3 separate regions of the Homo sapiens genome follow, and all the other regions are linked to region 1. Evidence: promoter capture Hi-C in 16 types of primary human blood cells and fetal thymus (Javierre and others, 2016). All regions are on one chromosome and are shown on one strand. Each heading gives the region's core, a stretch centred on a gene start or on the middle of the fragment in contact. The rest is flanking DNA. Distances are from core to core; before and after follow the strand shown. Region 1 holds the start of ITPRIPL2 (ITPRIP like 2). Region 2 has its middle 16 kb from the start of LINC02858. Region 3 overlaps CLEC19A (C-type lectin domain containing 19A).

Region 1 (3,230 bases), core at 492-2,991:
CCCCTCATGGATCTCAGTTAACATGATACAATAATGTGTGTGTGTGTGTGTGTCTATGCGTGCGTGCACTTAAGCCAGTTGGAGCTGTGTTTCTGTCACTTGCAAACCTAAGAATCTTGACTGGTAGATGATGATCTCATAGCTAATATTAGTAGATGGGATCTGAAGGCAGATCTGCTTAGCTCTCAGGGGCCCAATTTAGGATTTACTGGGAACAACCCAGAAGCCATCTTTTGAGTCCTGGTTCCCAGGTGGCAGCTGGGTTCTAACATGTTTTAATATATTCACCCTTGCTCTCTTTAAAGGTCAGTGCCAGCAAAGAAGGTGTAATGAGTGTGAATAAAGAAAGACAATTATTTAAATAGATCAGATTATTTCAGGAAGTGCTCCCTGTTATGAAACAAAACAAGCTTCCTAGGACTGAGGTTCCAATGTAGACCCAGACAAAGGACCCCCAAAATTCCCAGCAGATGAGGAAGAGACCTTCCCTGGGCCCCCTCCTGGGAGTTCCACCCCTTGGTTTCTGCCCAGCTCTACAAAGGCTGTGTAACCTTGTGGGGGAGGGGGGAAGGGGGGCAGCTGAACCTGCCTGAGCTGAACCTGTTTGTGCCCCTTTCCTCCACTGGGAAAATAATTTTATTTTAATTTCATTTCATTTTATTTATTTTATTTTTTCAGAGACAAGAGTCTTGCTCTGTCACTCAGGCTGGAGTGCAATGATGCTATCATAGCTCACTGCAGCCTCGAATTCCTGGCCTCACTCAAGCGATCTTCTCGCCGCCTCGGCTTCCCAAAGTGCTGGGATTACAGGGGTGAACCAGCATGTTCCGATGAAGTCTCAGGCCAAATGTCACCCCTGTCATCCTCTGGTTTCCACAGGGTAGCCAGCACCTTCTCACTCCCTCGGGCACTTTTGTTTATTTTAGAGCGTTTTCTTGCTGTGGAATCCTTCCCCCCACTTTTTTTTTTTTTTTTTTTTTTTTTGAGACGGAGTCTCACTCTGTCACCCAGGCTGGAGTACAGTGGCGCGATCTCGGCTCACGGCAGCCTCCGCCTCCCGGATTCAAGCGATTCTCCTGCCTGAACCTCCCGAACAGCTGGGATTACAGGCGCGTGCCACTACGCCTGGCTAATTTTTGTATTTTTAGTAGAGATGGGGGGCGGGGGGGGGGGTCTCACCATGTTGGCCAGGCTAGTCTCGAACTACTGACCTTAAATGATCCGCCCACTTCGGCCTCTCAAAGTGCTGGGATTACAGGCGTGAGACACTGCGCCCAGCCCCTTCCTTTTTTGATTCCCATTTTTACAAGGCTGTAAGCTTCACGAAGGACAGAAACCTTGTCCATCTTGTCAACTATGATTTCCCCAGCACTGTGGCTCCGACCTGGCACATGGTAGGTGCTCGGTGAATACTGGTTTGAACAGACGACTGCGGCAGACGGCAAGGGCCACTCCTGTGCCAGGGCCTGCCACGCCACCGCAGCTTGTGCGGTGGGGGTGGGGAGGACTGGACAGTCTGGCTGTGCGCCCTTTTCTCCTTTTCAACGTCCCAGTATAACTTCAAGGGAGCGCAACTCCAGAGGCTCCCTGGACGAAGCTACCGCCCCGGAATCAGGGCCTTCCCAATTCTGCCTTCGGGGAGGGAGGATGGGGGTGGGCCGCGGGAGGCCAGTTCCAAGAGCGTCCTGAAGTCCCTCCCGCCGCCCCGCGTCGCTTTAAGGCGGAGGCCCGGGAGGGGGCCGACCCGGCTCGCCAGCTCCACGCTCGGCTCCAGACTCCGGCATTTCCTCCCCGCTAGCTGGCGCGGCCTCGCCTCCCCCTCGGAAGAGGAAACTCCCGGGGTCCGAGTAACAGGGTCAGGCGCGGAGAGGAGCGGCGGGAGAGCCAGGAGGGCCGCCCAGGGTAGGAGGCGAGCCAGGCCGGGCCAGAAGCTGGCCGACGGCGGCGCGCGGGGGCGCCGGGCGGGGAGGGCCGCTGGGCCGGACTCAGCGCGCAGCCGGGGCAGGGCGCGGCCCGGGGCCCGAGAGCGCAGGGCGGGCCGCAGCTGGAAGGAACACTTGAGCTGGGAGAGGAGGCCGAGCTGGAGGGCGGCCTCCCTCGGGCCTGCGTTCGGGAAGCCGCCGCGGAGGAGGAGACGGGGACAGCGGGGCTGCCCGGGCGCTGTGCGCATGCTGGGCTTGGGTCGCCGCCGGGGCTTGCCCCCTGGGCTGCTCGGCCACCGCCGCCCCGGGCGCCCGGCATGTCGGTGCACTACACCCTCAATCTACGCGTCTTCTGGCCCCTGGTGACCGGCCTGTGCACCGCCCTGGTGTGCCTCTACCATGTCCTGCGGGGAAGCGGGGGCGCCCGGGCCGAGCCCGCCGACGGCGTGGATGGCGGCTTCCCGTTGCTTAAGGTGGCCGTCCTGCTCCTCCTCAGCTATGTCCTCCTGCGCTGTCGCCACGCTGTCCGGCAGCGCTTCCTGCCCGGGTCTCCCCGTCTGGAGGGTCACGCCGCCTTCTCCTCGAGACACTTCCGAGAGCCGGGCCTCAGCATCCTGCTGGAGAGTTACTACGAGCATGAGGTGCGCCTGTCTCCGCACGTGTTGGGCCACAGCAAGGCGCACGTGAGCCGGATCGTGGGCGAGCTGGTGCGGGCTGGCCGCGCCCGGGGGTCCCCCGGTCTCATTCCTGGGGGAGCGCTGGCCTTGGCCTTCCGCGGAGACTTCATCCAGGTGGGCAGCGCCTACGAGCAACATAAAATCCGCCGGCCCGACAGCTTCGACGTGCTGGTGCCACTGCGCCTCCCGCCGCTTGTGGCGCTGGAGCCACGGAGCCTGGGCGAGGAGCCAGCGCTGGCCCCGGCCTTCCGCGGCTGCTTCTTGTGCGCCCTCAAGGCACCACCCTCACCATCGGGGGCCTCGGGGGGCCACTGGCTTCGGGACTGCAAACCCTTTGCTGATGCCTTCTGCGTGGATGTGCGCGGGCGGCGTCACCTCTCTGCTACTCTGGTGCTGCGCTGGTTCCAGTCGCATCTGCAGCGCTCCTTGGCCACTGTGCGTTACAGCCTGGAGGGGCGCTGTCGGGTCACCTTGACCCCAGGTGGCCTGGAACAGCCCCCCACCTTACACATCTTGCCCTGCCGCACTGACTACGGCTGCTGCCGCCTTTCTATGGCTGTGCGTCTCATCCCCGCTGTCCATCTGGGAGATGGGGTCTTCCTTGTGGCGCCACCACCGCCACCCTTGCCCA
Region 2 (3,230 bases), core at 494-2,993, 240 kb after region 1:
TATTCAGACTCTTACACTCTTGGCCATTGTCCCTCTCCCCTAATGACCCCAGAGCCAGCTGCTGACTTAATCACATGAACCCTTAAAATCTGGGCACCCCACTGCCCCTCCTCAGAGTCCTCTGGCTTCCCTAACATCATAGTAAGCAGCTGAGCTGGCCCTGCTGCCCAAAACCTCAGCTCACCTAGAAGGGGAGCTAGGAGTAAACAGAGGGCTCTTGCCTGCCCTGCCTACCAGCCCCCCTGGCTCTCTCAGCCTGCTTTGCATTCACGACAACATCAATCTTGTTCAAACCCTGGAGCCCATAAGCCCCGCTGGGCTGGCTGCCTCTGAGTCACCGCACACCGGCAGACGGTGCTAAACTAATTTCCCAGCATCTTTGGGAAGGATTTGGTTTCTGTCTCCCCAGCTAAGAGCCATGCAGACGGTGGCAGCAGGCTGGCAGGACCTAGGGGCTCCCTGCCTGGTCTGGGAGAGCCCAGACTGAGATGCGATGCGATAAGATATTGATTAGCAAAGTGGCTGGGGGTTGGAGAAGGTCCAGGTTGCAGCCTGAACTGGATTAAGGGATGGAACAGCAGGTGCCAAACCTCAAGGATGGTGCTAAAACATCCCTGGAAATGTAACCAGATAGAGAAAAGTGTCATTATTTTTTACAAAGACTTTTTTTTTACAAAGATTAACAGGGCTCTTACCATGTATATGAATGATGTAATCTTCATTAACAATTCTACAAGGTAGGTACTATTTGTTATTGCCAAAGTACTGAGGCACAAAGTGCTAGTAACTTGCTCAAGGTCACCACCTGGTAGGTGATGGGGCCAGGTTTTTAACCCTGACCGCCAGACTCAATAGGATACCTCAACATTAGCCTGTCCAGGTGCCCACACATCTTAGCCGACTCTGCTGAGCTGTCAGAATATGCCTAGAAAGAACACACATATATCCCGTCTTGGTTCAAGGTGATAGAATCTTTCAGATTTGTCAACCTTACAAACCTCATCGGTAAAGTGGGAATACTGATAATACCCACAAATAAGTTTTAAGATATATAAAGGTTTAAGACACTAAGTATTAATAATGCTATTTAGAATCATTATAACAGAAAGGCCGCCAGTCCACTTCAATTTGACCATAACTCTAGCAGATGGACATTAAGATTCTACCAAATGGGCCAGGCGTGGTGGCTCACGCCTGTAATCCCAGCACTTTGGGAGGCCGAGGCGGATGGATCACAAGGTCAGGAGATGGAGACCATCCTGGCTAACACGGTGAAACTCCGTCTCAACTTAAAATACAAAAAATTAGCCAGGTGTGGTGGCACGCATATGTAGTCCCAGCTACTCAGGAGGCTGAGGCAGGAGAATTGCTTGAACCTGGGAGGTGGAGGTTGCAGTGAGCCGAATTCGTGCCACTGCACTCCAGCCTAGGCAACAGAGCGAGACTCCATCTCGAAAAAAAAAAAGAAAGAAAGAAAAGAAAAGAAAAAAGATTCTACCAAATGGACTTCTTTTCACCAAATCCTCTAACAAAGCAAATAGCAATAGAGCGGACATCGATTTCCTTTTTCCTTTTCCCTCATTGTCTAAAAGCTGTGGTGGATGGAATTGACCTAAATCTCAAATCCAAGGGTGGGACTTGATGGGTCCAAGCTTATCAGGGTATTTCCATCAGACTTGCCCTTGACTGGTTCAAGTAACCCAGGCCTAGCCTAAGCGAATCAGCTCAGTGATCCACGATTAGGAGAATTGGTTTAAGACTGGTCCAATCAACGGAGTTAGGATTTGTATTCATCAATTAAGGGCAGTGACTCGCCCTCCTCAGATATGAATAAAGAAGCTTGTAACCTTGTTTGTTGTTGATAGCTACCTTAAAGCCCTGGAGAAAGCCAGTTTGTGGATGAATCCAACTTACGGAGAAGGCAGTGCCAGAAGAACTGCAGTGAAACAGAGCTGGAATCTTGATCAAACCACACCAGAAGTGTCTCTGAAGCTGGCTTTTATTGTTTGACCTGGTTTGAGTTGGTTTCCTGTTACTTGCAACCAAAAGAATCACAATTGATAGACTAAACCATAGATAGCTTAAAAAATTATTGTGCAAAATTATATTAGTTCTTTGAGAAATTGGGAGAAAGGCAGGGGAGACAGAGTTTAGACAGAAAGTTGAGGTTTTTTGTTTTTGTGAGACAGGGTCTCACTCCAGTTGCTCAGGCTGGAGTGCAATGGTGCTATCACAGCTCACTGCAGCCTCAACTTCCTGGGCTCAAGCAATCCTCCCACCTCAGCCTCCCAAGTAGCTGGGACTACAGGCACGCACCACCACACCTGGCTAATTTTTTGTATTTTTAGTAGAGACAGGTTTTCACCATGTTGCCCAGGCTGGTCTTGAACTCCTGAACTCAAGCAATCTGCCTGCCTCAGCCACCCAAACTGTTGGGATTATAGGCATGAGCCACTGAGCCCAGCCAACAGAAAGTCTTTTACTCACCCACTAGGATGGCTATAATTTTTTTAAAGGACAAGAACAAGTATTGACAAGGGTGTGGAAATTGGAGCCCCCATATGCTGCTGGTAGGAATGCAAAATTATGCAGGCACTGTGGGACTGTCACCGTGTGGCAGTTCCTCAATAAGTTAAGCACAGAATTACCATATATGCCAAAAAAATTGAAAACATGGATTTAAACAAAAACTTATCCACAAATGTTCATAGCCAGAAGGTGAAAACAACCCAAATATCCATAAACTGATGAATGGATAATCAAAATGAGAGATACCTATGCCTTGCAATATGCGTTAATATCATTATGCAATAATATTCCTTCTTGGCCGGGCGCGGTGGCTCACGCCTGTAATGCCAGCACTTTGGGAGGTCAAGGCGAGCAGATCACTTGAAGTCAGCAGTTCAAGACCAGCCTGACCAACGTGGTGAAGCCCCATCTCTACTAAAAATACAAAAATTAGCTGGGTGTGGTGGCACACGCCTGTAGTCCCAGCTACTTGGGAGGCTGAGGCAGGAGAATGGCTTGAACCCAGGAGGCAGGGGTTGCTGTGAGCCGAGATCGCACCACTGCACTCCAGCCTGGGCGACAGAGCAAGGCTCCGTCTCAGAAATAATAATAATAATAATAAGATTCCTTCTTATTAAAAAGGAATGAAGTACTGATACATGCTACAACATGGATGAACCTTGAAAACATTACGCTGACTGAAAGAAGGCAGACTCAAAAGG
Region 3 (3,230 bases), core at 251-2,750, 170 kb after region 1:
GTTTCTTGATCTCTCTGAGCCTCAGCTTCTTCTAGAAAGTTGGGTCGCAATGGCATTCTCTTTGGGCTACTGTGCAAGGCAGATAAGATAACATGAGGAAAGTGCTTTGCACAGTGTCTGGCACTACAGGAAGATCTGAACATGGTAGTTTTGTGAGGGATTTGGCATCTGGGCCCCAACCCCACCTTGGCTGTGACAGCCTTCCCAGGGAGCTTTCAGAGCTGCTGCAGTGCCACCAGAGGTTAGGTGCGCAGGGAGGGAGACTTGTCCCTCTAATGGCCTCCCTGGAGGCCTGGCCCAGCAACCCCCAGCCTTGTGGGGCATCCCCAGGGATGAGAACCTGTCAGCCTTGGGCATGTGGCCTCCCAGTGTCCCATATGGAGGGTGAGGGTCTTCAAATGAGCTCAACTTCTTCCACTTTGCAATAGGAAGGCTGGGTTACTGATTCTGGGGGACCCTCATCTGGATGAGAAGAGTTCTGAATCCTATAATTTGGTGGCCAAGAGTCTTGACTGTCACCTCTACCAGGTTCTTTCCAGGCTTGTTTATGTTCATATATGGATTTATTTATCATAGCAGTGGCAGAGATATCATTTTTAAATCCCCGTTCAAGTAAAACTAATAATGAAATACCTAGATGGAGATTCTCATAAGGCCAAATTATTGGGTTGTGATAGTGTTAGAGTGACTTTAAACAGAGGGTTGATAGGGTTGTCAGATAAAATACCAATAAATAAATATTAATAAATTATTTCTTAGTGTAAGCATGCCCCAAATATTACATGGGACGTATTTATACTAAAAATTATCTGTTTGTTTACCTGAAATCAAATTTAACTAGGTATCCTTCTTTTTTTTTTTTTTTTTTGTTAATCTAGCATCCCTAGTGGTAACAATAAGGGATAGTCTTAGCTCATTTGGGCAAGGGGTTTCAGTTCTGTCCTAAACTCTCTGAGTGTATTCATCAGCTCAGGCTGCGAATATCACAGACTGGGGAGCTTAAGCAACAAACATTTATTTCTCACAGTTCTGGAGGCTGGGAAGTTCAAGATCAGGATGCCAGCAGATTTTATTCCTGGTGAGGACTCTCTTCCTGGCTTGCAGATGGCCGCCTTCTCACTGTACCCTCACATGGCAGAGTAAGAGAAAGCTCTGGTCTCTTCCTCTTATAAGCACACTAATCCCATCATAAGGATGGGATCCCATCTAAATCTAATCACTTCCCAAAGGTCCCCCCTCCCAATACCATCACATTGGGAGTCAGAGCTTTAACATATGAATTGGGGGCAGGGAAGAGGAGAGACACAGACATTCCATTCATAGCAGTGACTTGCCTCCTTACTCTCGGACCTCAGTTTCCTCACCAATACAATAAGCAAGTAGGAAAGAAGTTGAACAAAATATCCTTGCAGACTGCGCCTCGTATATCCCAAGATCTTGCCTTTCTGCCCAGCAAAAGTGGGAAGGGGCCAAGACTGAGTTTGAAAGCGGGAGTAACTAGGGGTATTTTCTGTCCTTCACTAGCTTGTGCCCATGGGACCTCTCTGAGACTCAAGTTTCCTCACCTCTCTGAGCCCCAAGTGGGGATAACAAGGGTCCTTATCAAGGGTTTTGGAGATCTTCAATGAGCTCGTGCAGGTGAAGTGCTTAGCACATAGGAAGCATTTAAAAAATGAGTTATTGCCATTACTATGTTTGCCACTGTGGTTGTTGATGTTATACTAGAATTGGCCAGGAGACAGTTTTCTATTCTGACAAAAGTCTTCAACATTGAAAGGAACTTCTGAACATCAGTCCCCAAGCCTCATCCCTACTCTATAGATAAGGGGACTGAGATTGTGTCAATCTCAGCTACCTGGGAGAGCTCGCAGTTTGGAAATGGAAGGATGGGTCTTAAAGATCCACTCAGCCCAACCTTTCCATATTAAGGCTATGGAAACTGAGGCTACAGAGGCCAATTGAGCCAACCATGGTCATCACTGTCCAAGTGGCAGTTCAACTGCTTCCCAGGCTCCCAGCCCTACAGGAAGCCCAGTTTCAGCCTATGCAGATAGATTCTCTAGAGGAAAGTGATTTCAACACAGAGGGAATGTGTGTGAGTTTATGGGTGCATATGGGCAGGAGCGTGTGTGTTGGTATGTTGTAGGGAGGATTTAGGGGTCTCTGTGGGCCCCGGCCGACCATGAGAATACATGTACCTCCAAGGTCCTCCTTATTGAGAATAGGCTTGGTTTTTCATCTTCTTCTGTGGACCCCCAGCCTTTAGGTACAATGCATAACAGGGCACAGGTCATGGGTCATTCATCCCACTACTCCAGACCTTTCATCACCCACCCCTTGCATATGCAAATATACGCAAATAGCACAACTCAGCCACCCCCTATGTTTTGGAGGAAAAAAAACTTTTTAGACATCTCTTAGAGACTTGGGAGGATTTAGACAGACTAAATCCTTTTCCCAAAACCTTTTCTCTGAATCTGCCTTTGATCTCATTGTTTAAGTGGATTAATGAATGTAAAGTCCTCAGAACAGTGTCTGGCACCCAGTAAGAGCTACGTAAACATTTATTATTCTTCTTCGACCATCAAAAAGTTTCCTTTCCCTGACTCCTGAGCCCAAGAACTCTCTATAGCAAAGGAAATTTATAGCAAAGTGTTTTGAAGCTCAGGATCTGCTTCTGCAGGGCTTCAGAAGCGTAGAAGGGGAATAAGTCAGGTTATGTAGCCTCTTCCTCACCCATCCAAGAGCCTGGCATTGCACTCTCAGCTCTGGGAAGGTTCTGTGACCCAGACTGTTTCTACTGTAATAATATCTAATACTTACTAGAGTCTCTACCTCTGAGCTGGAACTGGCTTTTCTGTGAAGTAGGCACTATGATCATGCCCATTGTACAGATTAGAAAACTGAGGCACAAAGAGCTGAGTTTCCCACTAGGACCATCTGACTCCAGAGTCCAAGCTCTGAAGTTGGAGCATAGAGACATAGGCAACGGTGTTCCTACCTCCTAGAGCAGCCCGGATCCTAAAGTGTCCCTTGGACATTCTATCCAGTTCCCCCTCCTCCTCTATGGTCACAGAGCAAGCACTTTGTACATACTTCTAGAATACTTAGTATGCGATGACTCTGCCATGTGCATGTTCCTCCTTCCAGACTGAGAGCAACCTAAGGACACAGACCTCAAGCCAAATAGGCACCCAGGAAACATCGACTTATTTGCTTAATTGTTACAT

The links. Contacts are between HindIII fragments. The CHiCAGO score rates a contact against its expected background, and 5 or more counts as called.
Region 2: a contact is called between a fragment that was not itself captured here and the fragment with the promoter of ITPRIPL2 in region 1, in 2 of 17 cell types (naive B cells and M0 macrophages). The highest score is 8.8, in naive B cells.
Region 3: a contact is called between a fragment that was not itself captured here and the fragment with the promoter of ITPRIPL2 in region 1, in 1 of 17 cell types (M0 macrophages). The highest score is 5.0, in M0 macrophages.

What each region holds. Positions count from the first base shown.
Region 1 is chr16:19,112,223-19,115,452 of GRCh38, forward strand. ITPRIPL2 (ITPRIP like 2) reads left to right here and starts at 1,742. Exons shown (of 1, transcript NM_001034841.4): 1 at 1,742-3,230. The coding sequence starts at 2,240. RefSeq lists silencers at 1,744-1,843, 1,934-2,303. The HindIII fragment of the contact is 2,659 bases long and covers 1,317-3,230 here.
Region 2 is chr16:19,348,737-19,351,966 of GRCh38, forward strand. No RefSeq gene overlaps it. Among named protein-coding and RNA genes, the nearest start is that of LINC02858, 16 kb to the left of the region's middle. The HindIII fragment of the contact is 187 bases long and covers 1,651-1,837 here.
Region 3 is chr16:19,286,172-19,289,401 of GRCh38, forward strand. The region is part of intron 1 of CLEC19A (C-type lectin domain containing 19A); the gene reads left to right. Among named protein-coding and RNA genes, the nearest start is that of CLEC19A, 2.1 kb to the left of the region's middle. The HindIII fragment of the contact is 4,175 bases long and covers 1-3,230 here.